2 separate regions of the Homo sapiens genome follow, and region 2 is linked to region 1. Evidence: promoter capture Hi-C in 16 types of primary human blood cells and fetal thymus (Javierre and others, 2016). All regions are on one chromosome and are shown on one strand. The core of a region is centred on a gene start or on the middle of the fragment in contact, and the rest is flanking DNA. Distances in the headings are between cores, read along the strand shown. Region 1 holds the start of RAB27A (RAB27A, member RAS oncogene family). Region 2 overlaps RAB27A (RAB27A, member RAS oncogene family).

Region 1 (4,765 bases), core at 39-2,538:
GAAAAAAAAGGAAAAATAGATTAAATATACTTCAACGAAATTAAAAATCAAGGCACGTCACAGAAATTAAGGAAGGAAGAAAAAAGGGAGGGAGGGAGGAAGAGAGAATGGTAGAAAGGAAGGAAGAAAAAAGTAGGAATGAAAACATAAAACAACATAAACCAACATAAAATACAGAAAATAATGATCCTCAGTCAAGTTCCTTCAGCATTATATTAACCTTTCTTCACTTCTAACCATCTGCAGAAACTGTTTTCCAGATTGTATTTTCCCTCTAAAGCAAGTTTTTAAGGCCGAAAAAAAAAAAAGAACAAGAACAGTGAGTGGAGAATCAACAAATTTAATTAGCAATGATTACAGAAAACTTAAATAGCACACACAACTCTATAATCCCTCTACCCCCAATTCCAACATCTGACTGATCAACCAACCATAAAATGTGAGAATCCATCCAGAAGGAAAGAACAGCTGTTAAGCTGTAGGGGTAAGGACCCTGTGGCAGAAGACCCTGAGGCCATGTGGGCCCAGGTGGCCAGCAGGAGCGGAAAGGCTGGGAAGGCTCCTCAGTCCAGGGCTCACAAGACTCCCTTCGCTTCAGGCCTGACTTTGCTGAACTGGTGATCTATTGGGACAGAGACAGGCTTTGGCAATAGTTACCAAAGCCTGTCATCATATCTGCACCACCACCAGTCCCGACCGGAGGGCCTGGCTGCCAGGTAGTTTTCAGTCTAACTGACAGGAGAAGAGAGAGCCCCTCCCTCGCAGCTAGTCTGCAGTCCAGACCCTCACCAACCGGAGGGCAACCAGGTTAAACAGTTAAACTGAAAGCAAAAGAGGGAGGAATGAACCGGGGGGCGTGCGGGAGGTCGGGGACTTTCCTCCTTTCCCTCCTGGAAAGTTTCCTACCCCTGATGGGCATCCTCCCACCTGGATGCAACCCGGAGGCGATCTGAGACCCTGGCCGGACCTGGGACCGCACCTGGCCAGCACCAGGCAGTTGTCATCACTGGGGTCTGCGCTGAGGGCCTGGGAGAGAAGCCACTCTTCAGGCGGGCTCGGGCGCCTGGAGGCGGGGAGGAAGGGCGGCGCACTCGGACCCCAGCCCTAGGACGGCCCCAGGGGGACGCCTCGCTCGGCCCTCCCGGAGGGACCGGACCCGCCGCGCGCCTCCCGCTCCTCAGGCCCCCTCACCTGGCTCGCCCCGCCGTCCTGTCCCCGCCTGGCTCGGGTCCTCGCGCGCCGCGTCCACCCGCCGCCGGCCTTTTTTGGGTCGTTGGCGGGTATTTTCCGCCTGGCCCCACATCACTTCCCGTAAAGGAGAGCGAGGTGGGGCGGGACCTTCTCTCCTCCACCTCCCGCCTTCTCCTGTCACCTCGGGAGCGGCCCCCGCCCGGCTGGCGGGGGGCGGGGTGCTGTCGCGCTCTCCCCGGCGGCCGCGCCTCCGAGGGGTCCTCTGTGAGCCCCGAAAAGGCCCCGCTCGCCTCCTTTGTCCCAACACTAGTTTCCGCTGCCCCATTCTGGAAGGCGCTACAAAATATAGGAGTGTTTTCGTTTTGGGACACAGGAGGGACATTTACAAACTGCACCAAGGACCGGTGCGCGGCGAGGTGTCGTTTGGGGACTCTCCCCTATTCACCTCCCCAAAAAGCCATGTTCTAAGGGTGTTTTCCACGGCATCAGTTCGCGGTCGCCACCGTAGCAGCCGGAGGTGCCGGGCGTACTCACGCCGGCCCCGCCCGAGGTTCCCGAGTCCGCGCGGCTCCTGAGGCGGCGTCCCAGGCCCGGCCCTGCCCCCGGCTTCCCGCCCCTGCGGCTCCTGGCTTAGGTCGGCCTGGACACGGCGTTTCCGGGGCAAGGGAATGCCCAGGATTCCTGGAAATAACATGGGAGAAAAATAAGTAAAAAATTTCGCAGGAAAAAAATCAATGTAATTCCGGGAGGAAATGGCAAACGGAGTCTCTGCTCACACTGTGTAATTCAAGAATATAAAACCACTGTAAATTTCTAAGAGTGTTAGAGCAATGAGTTTAAAAAGAAGAAAACTACAGTATGTTAAGGAACCGCCTCTGTCGGAAGAAACCTGCGCGCCTTTGCTGCCACCCAGCGGCTCTCTTCTCCCAGCGCCAACGGTGTCGCTCCGGCCTGCGGGGTAGTGAACCTGGGACTGCGTAGGGGGTCAGACCTCGTGGTTCCCACTCAGAGGCAGCCAAGTTCATCCCTCTCAGTGGCCAGGAGGTGTGAACAGCAGCCCTTGGGCCTGTCCCTATGGAGTCTAAGGCAAAGGCCCTTTGAACCAAATGTTTCCACTTCTAAGCAGAGTAAAATGTTGAGAAGCCTTAGTTCAGCTTCCCTTCTGCCTTCTAAGCCGTCTCGCTGACTTGTGTCTACCTCCACCGCAAATTCCAGCTGTCGCAGGCCCACCCGGTCAACTCCATCACCTTTCCAGTCTGTAGCTACTCACAGTTGGCATTACAGCAGTTAGCTTCTCAGGTGGGTCCAATTTACAAAATCACATATAGGATGAACCATATGAAATTACAAACAGTTGGCAATTTCATACATTTGATATAACATTTCCAGGCAAACATAACACAGTAAACTCGGGTTTAGAGATAACAAATGTCCTAACAGGTTGATAACTTCAAGAGCTCTTCCCGTGTGAGAGAAGGGCCATCAGACTGTTGGTGAGGTTAAGAGAGAAAAAGGCCGGGTTAGGTGGCTCACGCCTGTAATCCCAGCACTTTGGGAGCCCGAGGCCGGCAGATCACGAAGTCAGGAGATCGAGACCATCCTGGCTAACACGGTGAAACCCCGTCTCTACTAAAAATACAAAAAATTAGCAGGGCGTCGTGGCACGCGCCTGTAGTCTCAGCTACTTAGGAGGCTGAGGGCAGGAGAATCGCTTGAACCCGAGAGGTGGAGGTTGCAATGAGCCGAGATGGCGCCACTGCACTCCAGCCTGGGCGACCGAGCGAGACTCTGTTTCAAAAAAAAAAAAAAAAAAAAAAAAAAAAAAAAAGGGAAAAGGTAGCCTCATGTTCATGTCCAGAGGAATAGTCCTGGGAATCACTGATCAGCTAAAATCTGGGAAACCAATAATGTAGTAATTGCTAATGGCTGATATGGCACAGGGAAAGCCTGCCTTCAGCTTTCCCCACTCCTGTGGCCAGGCAAGGCTCTCACCAGGAGTATACCAGACAGGAGATCAGAAAACCTAGGATGGTGCTATGGCCCATTCATCACCCATTCATTCACTCATTCATCAAGTCAGGCACCCTATTAGTAAACAAGGTAAACTGGTCCCTGACGTCAGGACTTACTTGAGAGACCATCGAATAAGTAGGCAACTCCAGTAGTGAGATAAGAGCCTCAATAAAGGAAGTTAAAGAGTGTTATTGGAGCACAGATAAATGACACCAAATCAAGAGAAAGTTAAGGATAAACTTAGAATGAATGAGGGCAAGGGGCAAGGGAGAAGAGAATTCCAGGAAAATGGAGCAGAGGGAAGGCCTGGAAGCAAAAGATAGCATTCAACACTGGAGCAACAGGAAGAGGTTCAGAAAAGCTGAAAGACTGAAAGCAATCAGAAAAGAAAATGGAGAAATAACAGAGGCTGTGCGGTGAATAACCCTGCAATGATGATCATGATCATAACTAACATTTCTTGATCATTTACTATGAGTCAGCCAATATGCTAATAGTTTTGACTACATCACCTCATACGTGTCTTACAACTACTTTATGAAGTAGGTACTATTCTTACCTCTGTATTACAGATGAGGAAACTGAGTCCTAAAGCGATTAAGCAGTCTGACCAAGATCATGCAGCTAATAAGTGGCACAGCCAGGCCTAAAACTCAGAACTCAAGTTTTTAATGGTTCTAAGAATGGGTCTGAGAGGTCAATTAGCACGCTGTAATCCAAGTGAGGGATAATAGCGATCTGATTACGGCAGTGGCCATAAGGATGGAGATGAATGGACATATTTGACATATTTAGGAGAGTGAATCAAGAGGACTGGGATGTAGGGGTGTGAAAGAGAGGCAGTAGTCCATGGGGATGCCCAGTTTCTGGTTTGGGCAACAAGAAACCATTAAGCAACAGGAAGAAAACCTAGTTGCAACCAGGAGGAAGGGTGAAATAGGCCATAGTGATGAGTTTAGGACATTTCCATTTTGACACACTAGCACCAACAGAATATCCAAGTGAAGCTGTTTAGTATGTAGTCAAACAGGCCTATCTGAAGCACAGAAAACATGTGCTGTAGCTATTACCCAAAAGGTACTGGAAGGCATTAGAATCAATGAGCTAATCTAGAAAGTGAGCTGAGAGGGCAATAGGCTTGTTACAGAACCCAGATGAACACCCAGCATTTAAGGCATGAGCAATGGAAGTTCAAAAAGGAATCCAAAAAAAGAGTATCCAGAGAGGTAGGAAGAAAACAAGGAGAGTGTTATTACAGAAACTAAGTACACTGAACACATCTCGTGTGTCAGTTCAAAGTCATCTCTACGCCACTTCTTACTGCAGCCACAGAATCGATCACAGTATACCTCTTGCTTCCCACACTGGGGCTTTTCTGACACTGCTACTTGCAACATGGAGAGTTCTGCCTCCAGTTTTCCTAATAGAATTAAAGTGGATGGAATCAGTAAGAATTCATGGATTTTAATAAATAAATATAGATATATGTATGTGTATATGTATGTATTATCTAGCTCTGTCTGCTAAGAGGTCCTAGAAGCAATTATATCAAAGTAGCTAC
Region 2 (4,780 bases), core at 468-2,967, 36 kb before region 1:
TGGCAGGCCAAGGCAGGTGGATCACTTGAGGCCAGGAGTTCAACAGCCTGGCCAACATGGGGAAACCCCATCTCTACTAAAAAATACAAAAATTAGCTAGGCGTGGGGACACGTGCCTGTAATCCTAGCTACTCTGAAGGCTGAGGCACGAGAATGGCTTGAACCTGGGAGGCGGAAGCTGCAGTGAGCCAAGATCGCACTACTGTACTCCAGCCTGGGCGACAGAGTGAGATTCCATCTCAAAAAAACGTACAGAATAAAATAATAATTCATCCATGCAGCCAAAAACCCCAAAAGCTATTGATTGATAGACAGACAGACAGACAGATAGATACAGATATACGTATCTATCTATCTATATACAAAAAAAAAGACCCATAGTAGTTGTTGCTTTATCAAAAGCCAGAGAAATGTTCTAACCTTCTAAGTTACAGCAATTTATTCAATCAACTTGCTTTCCTCTACTCTGCCAACCAGTTTGAAAGGCTCCCTGGCCGGGCGCGGTGGCTCACACCTGTAATCCCAGCACTTTGGGAGGCCAAGGCGGGTGGATCACGAGGTCAAGAGATCGAGACCAGCTGGCCAACATGGTGAAACCCCAGCCCTACTAAAATTACAAAAATTAGTTGGGCATGGTGGCATGTGCCTGTAATCCCAGCTACTCAGGAGGCTGAGGCAGTAGAATCACTTGAACCCAGGAGGCGGAGGTTGCAGTGAGCCAAGATCGTGCCACTGCACTCCAGCCTGGGTGACAGAGCAAGACTCTGTCTCTGAAAAAAAAAAAAAGAAAGAAAGGCTCCCTAATGGCCAGGCGTGGTGGCTCATGCCTATAATCCCAGCACTTTGGAAAGCCAAGGCTGACAGATCACCTGAGGTCAGGTATTCGAGACCAGCCTGGCCAACATGGTGAAACCCATCTCTACTAAAAATACAAAAATTAGCCGGGCACGGTGGCGGGTGCCTATAATTCCAGCTACCCCAGAGGCTAAGGCAGGAGAATCGCTTGAACCAGGGAGGCAGAGGTTGCAGTGAGCCAAGATCGTGCCACCGCACTCCAGCCTGGGTGACAGAGCGAGACTCCGTCTCAAAGGAAAAAAAAAAAGAAAGGCTCCCTAAGTATTCCAACTAGGTTCCTTCACTAAGTTTCGTTTTCCTACCTAGGCAGATGGAAAGCCAAGCATCCAGGTTAGAACTTAGTCCCCCAAGGCCATACCTTGTCTCTGTCCTCAGCTAAGCCCAGGATAAGGCCATCTATGGAAACAAAGCTCCTATTTTCTTAACATGCCTCTGAGAAAGATATTTGAAGCCTAGAGGTTAAGAACATAAGGGCTAAAATAAGCAGGCAAGAGGGTGACTCAGAAAGAACAAGAGCCTTGTTTAAAAAAAAAAAAGAGTCGGGGAATAAACCTCAATACAGATTTACTAACACAGAAATAAAGACTTTGTGTTAGCAAAGAGACTATGAATCAGCAAGAGAACAACGCAAGAGGATAAAGGAAATTGTAGACAAGAGCAGCATAAACCATGAAGATGTAAGTATCCACGTGTTTATAACATGGATAATTGATAAGTAATAAGTAAGTCTTCAGAAACTATGTTTGAGTGTTCAGGGGAAATCACAAAAACAAGTAACAGTACACTTAATTTTTTAAATGAGGTTGAAATGAGATTCTGCATGAGAGATAACTGTAAAGTAGTAAAAAAGGTTTCAGAAGTCACACATGAAAATCAATCTCATAATTCTACAATCACATTTTAGTATGTCCACATTTTAAAGTATAAAGTTAGACTTTATATACCAACAAATTTGGCTGCAAGGTTTGTAAGTTGAGTTTTGACCTCGAGAAATACCTTCCTATTTTTTAAAGAAAGAAATATTATAATGACATTCCTTTTAAGTTATTACTTTCCTATACATACTTGCTTATCACATAAAAAATATAATTGCTATATAGCCATCAAGCATTAAAAATAAACCAACACATCTAACAATAGGCCTCAATGGTACTAATCTATTTTCCTAGATATATCACTTTAAAACCACATATGAATGTCTAAGAAATAAAAGTTTTTTATTTTTCTTTTAGAATCTACAGCATACAACATGATAAAATTATTTTGTATAAAAATTATAATTTTTAATTAATTTGAAATAATTTCCATTAATTTCTGATGCTTGTAAGCATTTTAGATATACATTCCTTTAGCTCTTATAATATACTTATAAACTGTGAAAAATTCTGAGACAGGAAGGAACAGATATTAAAATTCTATTACTTCTAATCTAAAAGCCCTCCATCTTATGTTCTCTGTAGGAGACAGAAACTCACAAAAGAAAATGTTTGGCTTCTACTATTAAGAAATTGGACATTTTTCACATATATTACAGTGGAAGGGGTTTTACATTTCTTTCAGGCACAAAATATTTATGAACTCGGGAGCAGCCCAAACATAAAGATAAAATGCAGCATGACTTTCCAAACCAAAATCTGCGGCTTATGTCTATGGATTTTTGTGACCCTTTTGGGAAAAGGCAGAGTTGGAAACACAATTTAGTTGTCCAAGTATTAGAACTTTTAAAGCATCTCTTTGATTTATGAAGAAAATGCACAAAAATACGTTAAAGGAGGCAGTACCAGAAAATCCAGCAAGTTGCTCATCACTACACACCTCTATGCACAGATGACATGAGCAATTATTTGTCTTTCCTTCACTTCTGACTGCCAGGGCTCAGGGCTGAGGTCCTATTGACTGCACATAGTATAAGAAAGGGAAGAGAAAGTTGTTTCAACGGCAACATCCTCACCTACTTATGTCTCTTTTCTCCTGGTTCCAGTAATTAACAGAATGATCACAAACTGAAACCAAACTGCAACTCTATCCCTTCCACTCTCACCCTGGAAGCCTGTTCTCATAAATCCATCCTCCTCGGGGTATTCCTTTAATCAATGTTTATTAATATGAATGAATGCTTTGGCTAACTTGTACAGGTCATCTGCCACTTTTAAGTACTCCATTCCCACCTCATGGGTGTGTTTCATCTCTTTGGTACAGTTGCATATTTCCTGAAGAGTCTCATTTTGTGTATTGCTTCTCCACTACCCCTCACCACTGGACAGACAACTGGCCAGCTGTCACTCAAATGCTAATTGTGTCTATCATCTGCTTTCTCTAATAGCCTTTTCCTTCCGCTGGTTCCCTCCATTCCCTGCCAATTTTATTTAGAAGTGACTCAAAAAGTGTTTGGGGACTCCACTGATAGCTGTGCTTTTTTGATAATTAAACCATATTTACATCCAATTCAACAGTATTTGGTAAGCAATTACTACCTTTCCAGTACGGTGCTAGCAACTACGAATGGCATGAAAGAAACACAGGATCCAACTGCTCCCTTCAAGAAGTTGGTAATTAGGGTGAGGTGGAATGATGTACTCATTTACGAAAAAGGACGGATAAGACAATATTATCAGGGAGAAAAACGTCTGGTACACCATGTGCACCAGCCAGCACAAGAAATCAAAAGTGAAAGGGGCTTCAAGTCAAAAGACCTGAACTCTGCTACTTCCTTCCTAGCTATGTGTCCTGTGGTGAGCCAGACAGCTTCCCCACACTGTTTCCTCAATATGGGAATATTTATCTAGCAAGATTATTGGAAGGATTAAAGGGTACATTATGTGAAATGCATTTTATAAACTGTAAACTACTGGGTACATGTAAGATCGTTGTTTTACAAGTCAAGTAGAGGCTGGGAGGTCAGAAAAGGGGAGCAATCTGTCGGGCATGGAGGCTCATACCTGTAATCCCACCTATTCAAGAGACTGAGGTAGGAGGATCACTTGAGCCCAAGAGATCAAAACCAACCTGGGCAACATAATGAGATGCTGTTGTACAAAAATTTTTTTAATTAGCAAGGTGAGGTGGCCTGTGCCAGTAGTCCCGGCTACTCAGAAGGCTGAGGTGGGAGGATCACTTGAGCCCAAGAGTTCAAGGCTGCAGTGAGCCATGACTATGTCACCACACTCCAGCCTGGGTGACAGAGTGAGACCCTGTCTCAAAAAAAGAAAGAAAGAGGGAGCAATCTGACCGTGACTCAAAGCAAGAGCCAGGACCTGAGCTGAGCACCTTCTTCAAAGCCAGGCAAGATTTAGCTAGATAGTGAAGAATAGGATACACAGCATGTTTCATGCAAGGGCATGTTTTGACTTCAATTTAACAAGTATTGAGGAGGCTTGCTAATCATTTCAAAGGATACAAATGTGCCTCAGATATAATCCTCTAAGTACAAAACTGGCTGTAAACTCAAAGGAATGCTTATGAGGTAATGTGACAAATTGAGGAGAGCAGGACGACTAATCCATTGGTATATGGGGTTCCTCTGCCACCATCTGTTTAGACCCAGGATAGGTCACCATCCCTCTGCAGGCCTTGTTTTATCAAATATGAAATAAGAGGTTTGACCACAATGGTCTCTTTCCAACACAGACATTCTATGCTGTATGATTCCAGGTTCAAAGTTCAAAGCTTAGTCATGAGAAATTTAAGTGGGGTCATGGTGACAGTTGTCCCTTCTATCACCTCTCACTCCTTGAAGATGAGAGCCTAGATGAGGGCAGCCGCATGGGAATGGGAAGAAGGGGATCCAAGATACACTAATTTTAAAATAATAGAACAGAGTTCCACATCAGGTGGAAAAGGACACAGCAAAGAGAACACCAAAGAATAAAGCCTAGGGGGCCAGGAGGCCAAAATAATGTTGCCAACAGAAGCAGGACATTTGAAG

What was found. Contacts are between HindIII fragments. The CHiCAGO score rates a contact against its expected background, and 5 or more counts as called.
Region 2: a fragment that was not itself captured here is called in contact with the fragment with the promoter of RAB27A in region 1 in 1 of 17 cell types (total CD8 T cells); the score reaches 5.3 in total CD8 T cells.

The regions. Positions count from the first base shown.
Region 1 is chr15:55,288,525-55,293,289 of GRCh38, forward strand. It overlaps RAB27A (RAB27A, member RAS oncogene family), which reads right to left and starts at 1,289. Exons shown (of 7, transcript NM_183235.3): 1 at 1,192-1,289. RefSeq lists a silencer at 977-1,506 and an enhancer at 1,607-1,756. The HindIII fragment of the contact is 29,121 bases long and covers 1-4,765 here.
Region 2 is chr15:55,252,361-55,257,140 of GRCh38, forward strand. The region is part of intron 2 of RAB27A (RAB27A, member RAS oncogene family); the gene reads right to left. Among named protein-coding and RNA genes, the nearest start is that of RAB27A, 35 kb to the right of the region's middle. The HindIII fragment of the contact is 5,603 bases long and covers 1-4,519 here.